Linked DNA regions of Homo sapiens: all the other regions are linked to region 2. The links are contacts of gene promoters, found by promoter capture Hi-C in blood cells and fetal thymus (Javierre and others, 2016). All regions are on one chromosome and are shown on one strand. Each heading gives the region's core, a stretch centred on a gene start or on the middle of the fragment in contact. The rest is flanking DNA. Distances are from core to core; before and after follow the strand shown.

Region 1 (4,294 bases), core at 1,025-3,524, 840 kb before region 2:
TAGTCAGGAGTGGTGGTGCATGTCTGTAATCTCAGCTACTCGGGAGGCTGAGGCAGGAGAATTGTTTGAACCTGGGAGGTGGAGGGTGCAGGTGCAGTGAGCCGAGATTGCACCACTGCGCTCCAGTCTGGGTGAGAGAACAAGACTCTGTCTCCAAAAACAAACAAACAAAGCAGTCAAGAGCAAAGATCATGGCAACATTTCTTTTTGATGCTCAAGGCATTTCGCTTGTTGATTTTCTGGAGGGCCAAAAAATGACAACATCTCCTTATTATTAGAGTATTTTGAGAAAGCCAAAGCCTTATCAGAAAAATGCCCAGGAGATTCACCAGAGAGTCCTTCTTCACCATGACAATGCTCCTGCCCATTCCTCTCATCAAACAAGGGCAATTTTGCAAGAGCTTCCACAGGAAATCTTTCTGACTTCTTTTTGTTTCCTAATCTTAAAAAATCTGTAAAGGGCACCCATTTTTCTTCAGTTAATAAAGACTGCATTGACATGGTTAAATTCCCAGGACCCTCTTTTTTTTAAGGATGGACTAAATGGCTGGTATCATCCCTGACAAAAGTGTCTTGACCTTGATGGTGCTTATGACAGGAGGCTGAGGCAGGAGAATGGCGTGAACCTGGGAGGGGGAGCTTGCAGTGAGCCGAGATTGCACCACTGCACTCCAGCCTGGGCGACAGAGGGAGACTCCATCTCACAAAAAAAAAAAAAAAAAGAAATAAAGTTTATACTTTTTATCCTTTAACTCCATCTTTGAACCTGGGAGGTGGAGGGTGCAGGTGAACGTTTTGAAGTCCCCTTGTATATATATTAGTGTTATATTCTTTTTCGGTTGCAAACTCCCTGAGATCTGGAATTTGTATTTCACTGCATGTGTATCTTCCATAGCACCTAGTAATCTGCTCTTCATTTAATGGTCATTTAGTACTTTCTATACACACATTATTACTATAATTGTTATTGTTGGCTTCTGTTGTCATTTCAGGGTGACTGTCATACTCCTCACCTTTCTGAGCTGGGAAACAGTTGAGAAATATACACAGGCGTTAGAAATATACACATATTAGATTCTGCTTTCTTGCTCATTAAGCTGAAATAGAGAAAACAATTTTGACCTGAGGCCAAAATGGAACTTCAACACCTTCTACTTTGGAATGAGCTTGTGTACTCAGTCTTTAGGCAAATGCAAATGACTTTTCAGGGGCACAGCCAATTTCTAACAGGAGGGGAGTGAGCTGAGGGCAGGGTGAGGATGGAGGCGCAGGGACCGGATGTGCAGGAGGTGCTTATAGGCGCTATTCCTTGACTGCCTTCTCTCTACATCTCTCAGAGCTCTCATTTTAGAGTGCTTTCTTCCAAATCTTCACAGCCATTACGTTATAACGTCATGATTTTAAAGTCTGTTGGTGACGTGCCACTTTGGGAAGATGTGGTCAAAGGCAGCAACTACTTTCACGTCCACTGTTGTCATTCAAGGCTTGCTGCAGTAGAATTACCAGTGTGGGCAGGCATATCTACTACTGTGGGGAGGCAGATCTGAATGAAAGCGCCAGAAGAGAGGCCAGGCCACGCACGTTCTGTGACCTTTTCAACTATTTACTGATTAGATACATCATACATCTCTCCTTCCCTAGGGAGACATGAATGGAGGAGACGGCAGAGAAAGGTGGACATTTTCTTCCAACAACATCTGATGCTAGATCCAGGTTTGGTGACACCTGAATCTTATGCAATTTAAGTGGTCCTCCTTAAGGAAAAGAATACAAAATTACAAGCATAAAATTTAGTAAAAGGTTGGGAAGGGGCATGAGCAAGTGAAGGTACTAAAACTTAAAGTTCATAGATTTGTTGTACATCCTTCTCAACAAAGGAGAAATGTCTATTTTCATGTGTGTATCAGTTAGGATGCTCTCAGATACAATAATTTAACTTGTAAGCAAACCAACTTGTCCAAGATTCAATAACAGAGTAGTGGCTGATGTAAATCAAGAGTCCAGTTGTTGGACAGGATCTGTGGTTGGTTGATCTAGCATCTTGACAATGTCATCAATGACCCAGTTTCTTTCCATCTTTCTACTGTGTAGTCCACAGTATCAATTTCATCTTAGGTGGCTCCCTTCAGGTTTATAGCATGCATGCCAGCAGCAATGGGGATTCCTAGCTTCCTCTTTCATATTAGAAGGGAGAAGACAAGGCCAAGCATGGTGGCTCACGCCTGTAACCCCAGCACTTTGGGAGGCTGAGGCGGGTGGATCACCTGAGGTCAGGAGTTCGAGACCAGCCTGGCTGACATGGTGAAACCTCGTCTCTACTAAAAATACAAAAAATTAGCTGGGCATGGTGGTGGGCGCCTGTAATCCCAGCTACTTGGGAGGCTGAGGCAGGAAAATTGCTTGAATCCGGGAGGCAGAGGTTGCAGTGAGCCAAGATCGGGCCACCTCACTCCAACTTGGGTGACAGAGCTAGACTCCATCTCAAAAAAAAAAAAAAAAGAATAGCATTACTGATTCCCAAATAGATGATGCTGAAGTTGTTTATACAATTGACATTCAGAAATATATTCCATGCTATCAGTTTTTTAGTTTTTATAATTCTTCAGGTGAAGTAAATAAGCAGGCACTGAGGAAAATATTATCAAATTCACAAAAAATGTGGTAGGTTGTTACAAATTCCATCGTCATTCAGATCAGATCATGACATTTAGAGAGAGGCTGCTTCACAAAAACTTGCAGGAGCATTTTTCAAACCAAGACCTGGTTTTTCTGCTATGAACACCAAGTATAATAACAGAAAGCCGCTCTACTCATCGACTGGAACATGCCTTATATAAACCTCGAAAAGGACTTTTTCACAGGGTACCTTCAGTGGTTGCCAATCTGGGCATGTCTGAACAACTAGGTTATAAAACTGTATCAGGTTCCTGTATGTCCACTGGTTTTAGCCGAGCAGTACAAACACACAGCTCTAAATTTTTTGAAGAAGATGGATCCTTAAAGGAGGTACATAAGATAAATGAAATGTATGCTTCATTGTAAGAGAAATTAAAGAGTATATGCAAAAAAGTGGAAGACAGTGAACAAGCAGTAGATAAACTAGTAAAGGATGTAAACAGATTAAAACGAGAAATTGAAAAAAGGAGATGAGCCCAGATTCCAGCAGAACGAGAGAAGAGCATCCAAAAAAGACCCTCAGGAGAACATTTTTCTTTGTCAAACATTATGGACCTTTTTTCCAGATTCTGAATTCTTCATGCATGTGTTATGTCTTTAAAAAAACAGACATGTTTCTAAAGGTAGCTCTAACAACCACCACCATCTCGATGTAGTAGACAATCTGACCTTAATGGTAGAAAACACTGACATTCCTGAAGCTAGTCCAGCTAGTACACCACAAATGGTTAAGCATAAAACCTTAGACTTAGCTGACAGATGGCAGTTCAAGAGATGACGGCGGACGGATCACGAGGTCAGGAGATCGAGACCATCCTGGCTAACACAGTGAAACCCCATCTCTAATACAAAAAAATTGGCTGGGCGCGGTGGCTCACGACTATAATCCCAGCACTTTGGGAGGCCAAGGTGGGCGGATCAGGAGGTCAGGAGACAGAGACCATCCTGGCTAACATGGTGAAACCCTGTCTCTATTAAAATACAAAAAATTAGCCCGGCGTGGTGGCAGGTGCCTGTAGTCCCAGCTGCTTGGGAGGCTGAGGCAGGAGAATGGTGTGAACCCAGAAGGCGGAGCTTGCAGTGAGCTGAGATCCTGCCACTGCACTCCAGCCTGGGCTACAGAGGAATACTTCGACTCAGGAGAAAAAAAAAAAAAAAAAAGAGTGTTCACGGCTGTTAGACACACAAGACAAACCATCTAAAACAGATACTGATAGTAGTAACCAATAAAAAAGCATCCAAAATGAGCAGCCCAGAAACAGATGAAGAGATTGAAAAGATGAAGGTTTTGGTGAATATTCACGGTCACCTACATTTTGATCCTTTTAACCTTAAAAGGAGATTTTTTTAATTTGGCTGATGGGTAAAGTCAAACATTTCCATTGTTTTTACTAGGTTGAGCTACTTGCAGTAATACAGGTAAGTTCATTTGTTTTTACTATATTCACCTCTTTGCAGTAATCCACAGATAAGTCTTAGTGCATTTATTTTACAAAGTACTTTTTCAAACATCAGATCCTTTTATTTCCAAACCTTTTTTCGCCTTTCAATAAGTTGTTGAGGGAAAGGCTTACACACATTCTTTAGAATTGGAAAAGTGAGGCCAGGCACAGTGGCT
Region 2 (4,438 bases), core at 615-3,114:
TAGCCAAACTGATTTTGCAGTAAATTTTTCTATTAACTAGACTATTTAATTAAAAATTATTCCATTTTAAATAAGAATTATTCGATATTATCTGAGGATACATATTTTTTAACTGTATGAAAATAATATTTTTAAAAGGGCTAGGAGCCCGGCGAGGTGGCTTATTCCTGTAATCCCAGCACTTTGGGAGGCCGAAGCGGGTGGATAATCTAAGGTCAGGAGTTCGAGACCAGCCTGACCAATGTGGTGAAACCCCGTCTCTACTAAAAATACAAAATATTAGCCGCGCATGGTGGCGCGCACCTGTAATCCCAGCTACTCGGAGGGGTGTGGGGAGCTGAGGGAGGATGATTGCTTGAATCCGGGAGACGGAGGTTGCAGTGAACCGAGATCGCGCCACTGCGCTCCAGCCTGGGCAACAGGAGAGCCGTACCCCCGGCAAAAAAAAAAAAAAAAAAAGGGGTTAGGGACTTAACAATGTTGTCATCTTTATTTAAAATAGTGTGAAACTGTTAAGTAAATATACTTGCAAAATGCATAAAATATAAAGAAGCAGTTCTAATTTTTGAAAACCATTAGAGACCATAGACATTTGCAATGTAAAAGGCTGCAGCAAACCAATTTACAGTAAAAGTTGAAATAATATGAATTGTAAAAATATTTCTAAACTGACCATGATAAAATGAAAAACTCACAGGAAGACAACAGAACAATCAAGATGAACATAAAGTAATTCTTGAGCGTGGGGACAAGACTATGAAAGAAGTGAGAAATGTACATGCACTGGTCGCTGTGAGATGGGGAGAGACTGCTCCAACAGGGTAAATCTTAGAGACTCAAGAAGACTGACTACGTGATAAGTGACTCTCAGACGAGAAGCATTCACTGATGAAAACTCTGGCTTCCCTTTCCTTTGATGTTGCAACAGTTCTATTTTCCATTCTTTGTGAAACCTGGAGATTACTCTTCACAATTGTATTTTAACAATTCTGCTGACGCGGCAATCAGGTGGGCAAAGGGAAAGATCAGTGGCGAAGCCTGGGCAGCAAGGGATACTGGAAATAGACTATGAGAGAGATTGAGAGATTACAGTCAGCAGCTATGTGTCAGGAGGGATGAGGAAATCCGAGTTAGAAGCGCTGAGCAGTGGTGCGGCAGGAGGCAGGGAGGGTCCGGAGGAAAACAGTAAAAGGGGGCAGGAGTGGCAGAGCAAGCGTGTGACCCACAACCAAGGGAGGTAAACCACATGAGGAGCTGGTGGGGAGCAGACTGAGGCGCTGTGAGGGTGGTTAGGACAAGCCCGCCCTCCCACCCTACTTTTTCCTCCGGTGGAGAGGCAGCGACCAGTCACCTGGAGTGTGAGTTCCGGAGGGACTCGATCAGGCGCTGCTTCTGCTGCTGGAGGCTGGTGAGGCCACCGGGGGACCCAGCCGCGGAGGAGGAGGCGCTCTTGGTCAGGGGAAAAAGCCAGCTCATCCTCCTCGGGTCCACGGGCCGGAGGCCCTGGAAGGCTCTGGCCTGCTTCTCCCAGTGGCTCGGCCCGGCGGTTCTCCAGCGACAGAGGAGCGGGGTGGGACGTCCGTGGCCCAAGCGCTGGGGACCGCGTCTTCTCTAAGCCTGTCCTGCCTGCGCTCCCCGAGTTCTGGGGGACATGCTACGAACGGCGGGCGGCTGGAGAGGGAAACTTGCGGCCCGGAACAGGAGGTCCCACCTTCACGGCCCAGACGCCCAAACCGGCCAGCCAGGGAGCCTGGCCGCCCAGCGCTCCACCACCCGCGCCGCCGTCACTTGCGTGCCCCGCCCCCGGGGGCGCTCTCCGCCCCCTCTGCGTGTCGCGTCATCATCTAGCGCCCCCGTCAGGACGTGCGAAAAGCGACGGCGCAGCACGGTGCGGCGCAGCTCCTGCTCGCCTTTCCCTTCGCTGGGCGAGAGGTGTCTATGGGGCACCCGCTGCCGCCGCCGCTACCGCCACCGCCACCGCCACCGCCGCCGAGTGCTGTCTCTATGGCGAGGAGGAGGAGGAGGAGCGCGAGCTCAGCGACACAAGTAGATCTTGCATCCGCTGCAGCCTTACGGGGGGAGGGGCGGGTTAGGGAAGTAGAAAGGGGGCGGGGACGATGAACCTGAGAGGGTGCGCGATGGCGCCAGCTGGAGTGCGGCTGGCGGAGGAAGGAGCCTGGCGGCGGGTTGGGGGCTGGGTAACTGGGGCTGGGGGTTTGTCAAGGGGTTGGCGCGTAGTGATGACGCAAAGGCTTTGTACCTGGGGCTTCGCAGTGGGACGGAAATTGGGAGTGGAGGGCGGTGGCCTAGATCCTCACCTCTTCGTATTGTTTCACGCGGCAGTGCTTGGGAGTCAGTGTAGCTCCAGTCAGTGTTATCAGCACCTTCGCACTGGCGCTTTGCCAGGGAAGAGAGTTATCTATGGCTTGAATACCTCGGTGCCGTCCTCTCGTTTCTCTGGGAAACTGCAGTACGGAGATGCTTTCTCCAGTAATGAGAAGGCCTTTGGTGTCTCTTCGGGGCTTCTGGGACTGCAGTAGAGAGAGAGGTGGAGGAAAACAATGTTAGACTACAGGGTCTTTCCAAGTCTTTGTGTTTTTGTGCTTATGTGTGTGTGTGTGCCTATCGGGGTGGGAGAGTTATAAAGGAGGGGTGTCCTGGATCTCCTTTAGTTTCTCTACTTGGAGAATTGGAAGTTACATTTGTGACTCTTCAGAGTTTAGAAGACAGTCATAAGACCCTCTTTTTACTCTTGTTTTTTTTTTTTCCAATTTGTATGAAAAATGCAGAAGGATTTGAAATTTCCCTGCCCAAGAATCAACAGGAACTCTGTTTATAGACCAGAAATGTGACATCTATCTTTGGTAACCATGCAATATGCTCTAAGTTTTAGACGTTCTATTGTGTTCTTTTTCCGTTCTGCAACTGCGAACATTCAGATAATTTTCATGGCCGTTACTTTTTTCTCAGAGCATTTACAAACATTTTTGACCCCTCTAGTCTAGTTAGAATAAACGCCGGTAAAGTAGATCTTGTTATCAAGTCGGATTTTGGTTGTTTTATTAATGAGGAATAAAAATAAACACCATCTTTGCCATGGTAACATCTGATCTTGTCACATGTAAATAAGTAATTTTTCATTTTTTGTCTGGAAATGGATGGCTTTATAAAGTTTTATGCAGAGTAGTTGAACTCAGATAAATAATTAGTGGAAAGTTATAAAATATGATTAGTATGTATGTGTAAAAAAGCTATTTTAAAATAACTGAAATTAGGACCAGGAAATCTGTACTGTAGTCCTTTTTTTCCTATAGACTAGCTGTGTGACCTTAAGTTACTTTCTAAACTTTGATTTTTTTTTTTTATGAGTCAAGAACTTTGAATAAATAACTTCTTAGGTTCCTGCTGGATCAATTATTCTGTGATTCAGATTTGATATATCTGGTCTTCATATTGTTTTTTTATTTTGACAGGTACATAAATAAAGGATAAAATATTTTATGAAACAAATCTTCAATCAAGTATAACATTTTGATGCTTGGCATCTAGACTCCCTTGTGCCCTCACTATGCCAGCGGCAACTGTAGATCATAGCCAAAGAATTTGTGAAGTTTGGGCTTGCAACTTGGATGAAGAGATGAAGAAAATTCGTCAAGTTATCCGAAAATATAATTACGTTGCTATGGTATGCCCACAAGCAGATCTTTAAAACGCTTCATATAAAGGAGGAAAAGGAAATTTTAAAGTCTTGAATTCAACCCTTTTGGTTGATATTTTTAGGGATTAATTTCACCATGAAAAGTAAAATTTGTCACTGCCCTCCAGCCAAAATCCATCAGGAATACACCTGTGATTTGACAGGTTGGGTTTATCCCTCATTGCAGTGAGGGAAAACGCACTGGAATTCATGGGAACCATGGGCCGTTTGAATAAGAGTTAGGAAGGATTTGGGCTCGTGTCAGGTGGTCTTAGGGGAAGGTAAGGGAAGCAGAGCTTTACTGTGGATTGGATGTGTTCGGGAAGCTGGGGTAATTCTGTGATTGGGTATCTTACTAAGTCTTAAATGAGAGACTAGAATGAGGTTAAAGCTGCAGAGAAGGAACAGTCATTCATTTAGCCAGGATGGAGATACTTGGTCATTTTGTGGTTTGACATTTTTATTTTTTTGTCCTTGTTCAGACATGATTACAGAGTGGCCTTATTTGAGGTTGAACTTTTGTGAAATTGTGTTCAACAGGAGAACATTAGGGCGTGGCTATGAGTGCCAGGTCTGCTCCTAGCAACACCAAAGCCTAGCTGGTAGTACCACATGAGCTCCCAGAAGCTAGGGTGCTCTTTCTCAAACAAAAAAATCAGATGTGCCAGTGAAACGTTGTTGGTCTGCAATTTGTTTTCATAATTAACACTGGAGTTCTGTGAATATACTGTGTTACTAAGC
Region 3 (4,785 bases), core at 2,219-4,718, 730 kb before region 2:
GAATCGCTCGAACCCGGGAGGCAGAGGTTGCAGTGAGCCGAGGTCGCACCACTGCACTCCAGCCTGGATGACAGAGCGAGACTCGGTCTCAAAAAAAAATTTTTTTTTTAATCTTTTCAGAATGTAAATATGTAAACTTGTGTATATTTATATATTCAAACATTTTTTAATTCACCAAAATTCAATCATTATATTTCACTAAGTAACAGTAATAGGGCCTGAAGTACTATGTCCAATTATTATTTAAGTAATTGATACTCAGTTTATTAAGACTTTCAGTTTAGTGTCCTTCTTCGACCTCTACCGGACTGTTTATTTTTTGAAGATATCACTATTTGGTAGAGAGTAAAAGGAGATGAAAATTATAAAATTTTAGTAAAATTCTGGGTTCAGAAGAATAGGATTGATATTTTTGCAGAAAGGAACACAGACTTAACAGAAGCCCAGCTTCTAAGTTCAGCTTTACCATTTCCTAGCAATGTAAGCTTGAGAAATTCATTTCAAAATGCAAACAAATGTGATGTTTCTTTTCTGATTACAAAATGATAAATGCTCATTATGAGTTTAAAGATGATAAAACCACTATTAACATTTTGATGCATTTTCTTCCGGCCTTTTTGCTTTCAAATTTTTGTTTATACATAGTTGAAACCATACTGTTGAGACAACACTAAATCTTAATGTCTTTTTTTTTTTTCCCCTTTTGTCTTCTTAGGATGGATTACTACAAGTACAATTACTGGATTAAGGGCATGACTTCTGAAGCTTTCCAGGAAAGTTGTACCAGTTTACATTACTGAGCCTTTATGAGTACTGAAAAACAAAACAAAAAAAAGTTCCCTCTTTGACCATGTTTCCTCCGAAAAATGGAAATAAAACCAACTCAGCATTATGAGGCTCAAATGAGATTTGTTGGTAATTTGAAAATAATGGAGCATGGTACAAAAGATAGCTGCTGTTATCATTTTTAAACAAAAAACGCATGCATTTTATACTAATGTCAATGAAAGCTACTAGATTAAGGTCTATCCACTATAGTCTAATGTCATGTTATTGCCTCTCTCTCTCCATATTTCTTTGAGATGCTCTTTACAAATTAGGAAACTACTGGTGCTTTTATCTGCTGCCAAGGGACTCAAAAAAGTGACAAACAGGGAAATACTATAATAATGTGATTAAGGCAACAAAATAGGTTTACACAAGCTACAAGGAAAACAGGAGAAAGGGGAAACTATCCTAGCTTGGATTAGAATGGAGTTTCAGAATTAAAATTGTATTAAGAGTCCAGCAGAGAAACGAACTTACAAAAAAGGCAGAAAGGACTTGAGATAGAAAAACAGCTACCAAGGTAAGAAAGAATGTGATAGCTATACAAAAACTCCAGTTCAGTGCCACAGAAAGAAAAAAGTTCAAGGCAGAGTGTGTTGAGAAATGAGTCTGGAGAGGCAGGAAGGAACCAAATCCCTGATGGCCATGTACGTTCCATGAAGGCATTCAGACTTTATCCTGTAGGCACAGTAAGCCAAAGGATTGAAGCAGGAGATGACATGATTTCATATCTAATTCTTAATCAGATAAGATTTTCAGAATTTGAAGAGTTCCACAATTGTAACTATCCTTTGTTTAGAATTTTATTAAAATGTGTCCAAAACTATTAAATAGTATAACACAAAATATTTTCAGTTTTTATTTTTCAGTATCAAGGAATGTGTACTATAATTTCCACTATAAAACCTTCCACATGATAGATACGTGTGAAACACCAATTTTAACACCTGCTTTATTATAGCTTTTCAAATCTAAGCTGAAAACCTCCTTATATTAATGCAAACCAAAAAAGAACATACCTGAAGATATTTCTGTAGACCTATTACATTTTATTATTTTTTCCAGTTGCTCATGATTCTTTCTGCTGAATACTTTTGCTTGAACAGGCTCTTCAGTCTGGGCTGAATGTCTGTTCCTACTTTTGCAAGGTTCACATGTGCTAGACATACTGGCACTTTCATACCCTTGAGTAAAAAAAGTGACAACTGTTATCAGTTGCAACTAACTCAAACTAAAAGGGAAATCGGTTTCCATTGTGTAACAGTACAGGTAACTCAATTTACAATGCTAGGAAGGCCTGGTATAAATAGAATACAAAACAGTAAATATGTCTTGGAGGTATCTTTGCAATACCCTTTGGAAGCATGAGCTAACAGTAATAAATCTAACCTTCACTGTTCTTTGATACTCATCTTAATGAGTATATTCCAATTCGAAGTATATGGCAGACCTTACATGACCCCAAATCTCTACTAGAATTCCAAGTTAGCAATTTTTAATATTAGGAGACATAAGAATCACATCCGATATATACAAATATCCATTATAGAGGGAGAGTAGTCAAATACATTTGCCTTTCTTATTGTTATCTTTTATGTGACATGACTTGGTTTAAAAGGTCTTACCCACTGATAGGTTATACATATATTCTATAAAATTTTCAAGTTTTTAAAATATTTTGGTATATATACAAGGTAGAAATTCCTTTTTTTTTTTTGTTCCACATGGATAGGTGGCTATACCTACCCTCTTTCCACTGAATTAAAATACACATCGGTCAATATATTAAATTCCAATATTTGGGGTTTTACTTTTGGACATTTATGTGTTCAACTTAGCTATTCCAATGCCATTTTTATTCATTTAGAAACACAAGTTATACAGGATGATCAAATATCTGCTAAGGCAAGTCCCACTAGCTTCACTTTTTTCTTGACTATTCTTGGGCATCTGTCCTTCCACATAAGCTTTGTTGTTTTTTGTTTTTAATTTTAAAAACAATCTCTGGGGACTCAAAATGGAATCAAATTAAAAGTATGTATTAATCTCAGGAGAAATGGTATTTAATAATCTTATGCATTTCCATCTTTTCCATCTTAAGAACATGGTTATGTTTTTATATTTGTTCAATCTTTCTGATGTTCTTCAAAAATACTTTATAGCTTTTTATAGACCTAGTACTTTCCTTGTTAAATTTGTTCCTTACATTTCATACCCCCCACTCAAACACTTAGAGTACTACTATGAGAAGAGCGTTCCTCTCCACTTTCATGCTACTGGATATTACAACAGAGAAAAATATTCACACACTTATTCCATAACCAGCCACTTTAACAGTTTACCTTGTAACTCTAGGAGCTACTTTCCAGTATCTCTTGGGCTTTCTTAGTATACAAAAATGCCACTAGAAAAGAACACATAAAACTTGCTTCCTTCCTTTTCCAATATTTACTACCATTATAATTCCAATTATTTGACCTAATGCTTCCCAAATAATGGTAAATAATGATGGTGGGACAGAAGGAATCCCTGTTTAGTTCCTAACTGAGATAGAAATATCTCTGGAGTACTTTCATTTACAATGATGTACACTGGCTAACAGTCTTTATTACACTCAAATAACTGCTTTTTTTTTTTTTTTCTTTTCTTTTGAGACTGAGTCTCATTCTGTTGCCCAGGCTCAAGTACAGTGACACAGTCTTGGCTCATTGCAAACTCCACCTACCAGGCTCAAGCAATCCAACTGCCTCGCCCTCCCAAAGTGCTGGGATTACAGGCATAACTGCCTTCTTATACCCATTTTACTTCAAATTCTCATGAGAATAGCTTCTATGATTATTTGTCCCTTTGATAGAATAAATTATGTTGACAGATTTCCTGGTAACAAATCATCATTACATGTCTGAAATAAACTCTAGTGTTGATAGTCTAGAATTCTTTTGATACAATGGCAGATTCAATTTGCTAATATTTTATTTTTACTTTTGAATTTATATTAGTGAGACTGATCTACTGTTTTCTTTATTAAACTGTTCTCTGTCTTCTTTATCTTCCCCTGTATAAAGGTCTCTATTTTGATTCACAGGTTGTTTCTTTAGTTTTCCTCAGATAGGATAAACTAGTATCTCCTTTTCATTCTGACATGTGGAGGGTCCTTTGGCTGAGTACAAGGTTCCTGAGTTGCAGTTCTTTGTCAACTGTGTAGCGTCATTCCACTTTTTTCTACTTCTGCTTGTGTGGTAAGGAAGATTGCCTGGTGTCGGTTTGGTTCTTTTTCTTTGTATGCAACTTGGTCTTTCATATGGAAGCTTAGAGGATTTTTACTTTTTCCTTGGAATTCAGGGATTTTGCCAGACTCTGCATAGGTGTTTGTGTGTTTCCCTCACTTCTCTCCTGGCTAGACAACAGCCAGCTGTTCTGATCTGCAGTCTCAAGTCTTTCTTCATCCCATCTATTATTTAGTTATTGCTTGTCCACCTGGTTTTTTATTTTCCCCTTCAGAACTTCTTGTAAGTCTCTAATCGTCTTCTCTTGATTTTATCTGTTAGTACTTTCATTCCATTTAATGACATAATTCTTCCCCCTGATTTTCTAGGCCTGTAATTTGGAACTTAATAGCACGTGTCCTCTTTTTTAAATAATCTAAACATTAAAACTTAATGTCATTTTTTTCTAGCTCTAAAGAATTTGTTATAATTCAATCTGCTTATGTGCCCTTATTATTTTGTTCAAGTGTATTTGTTCAATATTTTGTTCAATAATTCTATTTTCACTAGGTTTTGCCTCTTTCAGTGGTCTACTTCTGTTTTCTCCCTGGTAACTAGGTCCCTTTTATATGCACTGTTATATTCACTGGCCTAGTCATGACTCTCACCTTCTCTTAAGGCTGGACCCAAATGCTGGATAGCTTTAATAATGGCAAGATGAGGGTGCATGGAAGTCTCATTCCTGTGGTCA
Region 4 (2,817 bases), core at 1-2,500, 810 kb before region 2:
AACTGTATTTTGGAATACAAGAAAGAAATTGATCACTGAGGCTTGATAGGTCAGAATATTGTTTATAGCTTTATTTACATAGCATTTGAATTAAGGCTAGCATTTTACTCTTATTGGTATCTATTAAAAATCTCACACTATATAACTAACACCTAAATGTCAACAAAACAAAGTCTGCAGTCCATTTTCAGACAGAGCTCTGTGTCTTGGTGGGTTCGGGTTTCCCTTAAACTTTACTACATCTGTTTATCTTTTCCCTACACTGTAGTTTTAAAAAAATGCAAAAAGTTTCCTATCATCCCACCACTCGCTAACAATCATTCCCTGAACGTTCTGAATATGCCCCCCTAATTTTCCCATTTGTTCCTTCTTTTCTTGGTCCTTCTCCACAGCTCTCCCTAAAGTAAACATGCCGCCTTTACCCTGCCAGGACAAATCCCTCCGGCCTTTAGCATCCAGGTCACCCTGGCTCTCACAGGAAGCCTGCCTTCAGTTCACGGGCCCTGCCATACTTGCGTTTTGCCTATACCATCTTTGAGCAAGTCACAATCTCGTGACTTGTGTTTGGGTGTGTGCCTTGTGATCTGGGTGCCTGCAGTTTCCCCCACTGTATTGGAAATGCTTTAAGGATAGGGATAGCCAAAGCTCCACGGTTTTTACTCCATAGGACACCGGCAGGTCTCCCAGGACTGCCAGCTGTGCGTCAAGGAGGGTTAAGGCAGTCTTAAAGCATTGGGGGTGGAGCAATGTGCTGTCAGGAATAAGCTCCTATAAGGAGCTGGAGATTCTTTCCTGAGCCTGTTTATATTCATTACCTGAAACAGTGATCCTGTTGAAGTTGTTTGCTTTAGTTATTTGGTGAGACTTTAGCTAATTTTATATGATTATACTATATTAATATAAATATATACATTATATAACATGCTTTGCATATATTAAGTTATATTATTTAATATTAAATAACTTCTAAAGCAAATTCTACAAGTATAGAAATGCTAATATATATCAGAACATCTCTGAATTGAAAACGTCCTTAAAGTAAAAATAACTTTTCTTTCAGCTGACCGTATACACAACCTTGATAGATGTTACCAAAGGTCAATTCGAAACTTACCTGCGGGACTGCCCTGACCCTTGTATAGGTTGGTGAGCACACGTCTGGCCTACAGAATGCGGCCTCTGAGACATGAAGACACCATCTCCATGTGACCGAACACTGCAGCTGTCTGACCTTCCAAAGACTAAGACTCGCGGCAGGTTCTCTTTGAGTCAATAGCTTGTCTTCGTCCATCTGTTGACAAATGACAGATCTTTTTTTTTTCCCCCTATCAGTTGATTTTTCTTATTTACAGATAACTTCTTTAGGGGAAGTAAAACAGTCATCTAGAATTCACTGAGTTTTGTTTCACTTTGACATTTGGGGATCTGGTGGGCAGTCGAACCATGGTGAACTCCACCTCCGTGGAATAAATGGAGATTCAGCGTGGGTGTTGAATCCAGCACGTCTGTGTGAGTAACGGGACAGTAAACACTCCACATTCTTCAGTTTTTCACTTCTACCTACATATTTGTATGTTTTTCTGTATAACAGCCTTTTCCTTCTGGTTCTAACTGCTGTTAAAATTAATATATCATTATCTTTGCTGTTATTGACAGCGATATAATTTTATTACATATGATTAGAGGGATGAGACAGACATTCACCTGTATATTTCTTTTAATGGGCACAAAATGGGCCCTTGCCTCTAAATAGCACTTTTTGGGGTTCAAGAAGTAATCAGTATGCAAAGCAATCTTTTATACAATAATTGAAGTGTTCCCTTTTTCATAATTACTCTACTTCCCAGTAACCCTAAGGAAGTTGCTAACTTAAAAAACTGCATCCCACGTTCTGTTAATTTAGTAAATAAACAAGTCAAAGACTTGTGGAAAATAGGAAGTGAACCCATATTTTAAATTCTCATAAGTAGCATTCATGTAATAAACAGGTTTTTAGTTTGTTCTTCAGATTGATAGGGAGTTTTAAAGAAATTTTAGTAGTTACTAAAATTATGTTACTGTATTTTTCAGAAATCAAACTGCTTATGAAAAGTACTAATAGAACTTGTTAACCTTTCTAACCTTCACGATTAACTGTGAAATGTACGTCATTTGTGCAAGACCGTTTGTCCACTTCATTTTGTATAATCACAGTTGTGTTCCTGACACTCAATAAACAGTCACTGGAAAGAGTGCCAGTCAGCAGTCATGCACGCTGATTGGGTGTGTACATCTGTGTTGGTTTGGAGGAGGGGGGTTATTATCAAGAAATACAAGCTGAACATCGTATCTGAATTAAATAACAAGGGTTATGTAAGTGGGTTATTAAATATGACTAAACGGTCACAATCTTACTCTTACATGACTGATACCACCTCTTAACCAGATACTATCAACCCAATTTGCAGGTGTTTAAAGGCAGTTTTTCCCCCAGATAGGTGGTGCTTCCACAAAACTTTAGTGATTCCAAGATTACTTTAGTGAAACGAGGAATTATAAGAGGATTTACATTAAAATAGGATTTAATTAATGAAAAAAAAACTTTACTCAGATTTTCTACCTCTTACATAAATGAAGTCAGGTCAACTTGATGTATTTTTTTGTTAATGTAATAACCTTTGATATGCCTGATAGTAAAGAGGTGAGATGCTAATTGTTTCAGACCGATTTCTCCGGAGTAAATCAAAGTTTACAAGAAATAACAGGTATTAAGATTTTAGGAAGTAATTGTTTAGTGGTAAAGCAGTTTTAAAATAGGATATACAGGATGAGCCTGTT

What was found. The method cuts DNA at HindIII sites, captures the fragments that hold promoters and counts their contacts. A CHiCAGO score of 5 or more calls a contact.
Region 1: a contact is called between a fragment that was not itself captured here and the fragment with the promoter of CNOT7 in region 2, in 1 of 17 cell types (neutrophils). The highest score is 6.1, in neutrophils.
Region 3: a contact is called between a fragment that was not itself captured here and the fragment with the promoter of CNOT7 in region 2, in 1 of 17 cell types (neutrophils). The highest score is 6.8, in neutrophils.
Region 4: a contact is called between a fragment that was not itself captured here and the fragment with the promoter of CNOT7 in region 2, in 1 of 17 cell types (neutrophils). The highest score is 7.1, in neutrophils.

What each region holds. Positions count from the first base shown.
Region 1 is chr8:18,088,094-18,092,387 of GRCh38, reverse strand. All of the region lies in intron 4 of ASAH1-AS1 (ASAH1 antisense RNA 1), which reads right to left. It also overlaps the pseudogene ABRAXAS1P2. Among named protein-coding and RNA genes, the nearest start is that of ASAH1-AS1, 5.4 kb to the right of the region's middle. The HindIII fragment of the contact is 6,497 bases long and covers 1-4,294 here.
Region 2 is chr8:17,244,283-17,248,720 of GRCh38, reverse strand. CNOT7 (CCR4-NOT transcription complex subunit 7) reads left to right here and starts at 1,864. Exons shown (of 7, transcript NM_013354.7): 1 at 1,864-2,046; 2 at 3,474-3,685. The coding sequence starts at 3,569. It overlaps VPS37A (VPS37A subunit of ESCRT-I), which reads right to left and starts at 1,763. Exons shown (of 12, transcript NM_152415.3): 1 at 1,352-1,763. The coding sequence starts at 1,476. RefSeq lists an enhancer at 1,267-2,115. The HindIII fragment of the contact is 11,268 bases long and covers 1-4,438 here.
Region 3 is chr8:17,977,818-17,982,602 of GRCh38, reverse strand. It overlaps PCM1 (pericentriolar material 1), which reads right to left. Exons shown (of 39, transcript NM_006197.4): 24 at 1,848-2,012. Among named protein-coding and RNA genes, the nearest start is that of PCM1, 57 kb to the right of the region's middle. The HindIII fragment of the contact is 1,341 bases long and covers 2,798-4,138 here.
Region 4 is chr8:18,055,867-18,058,683 of GRCh38, reverse strand. It overlaps ASAH1 (N-acylsphingosine amidohydrolase 1), which reads left to right. Exons shown (of 14, transcript NM_177924.5): 14 at 1,061-2,692. The coding sequence ends at 1,150. Among named protein-coding and RNA genes, the nearest start is that of ASAH1, 27 kb to the left of the region's middle. The HindIII fragment of the contact is 9,765 bases long and covers 1-2,817 here.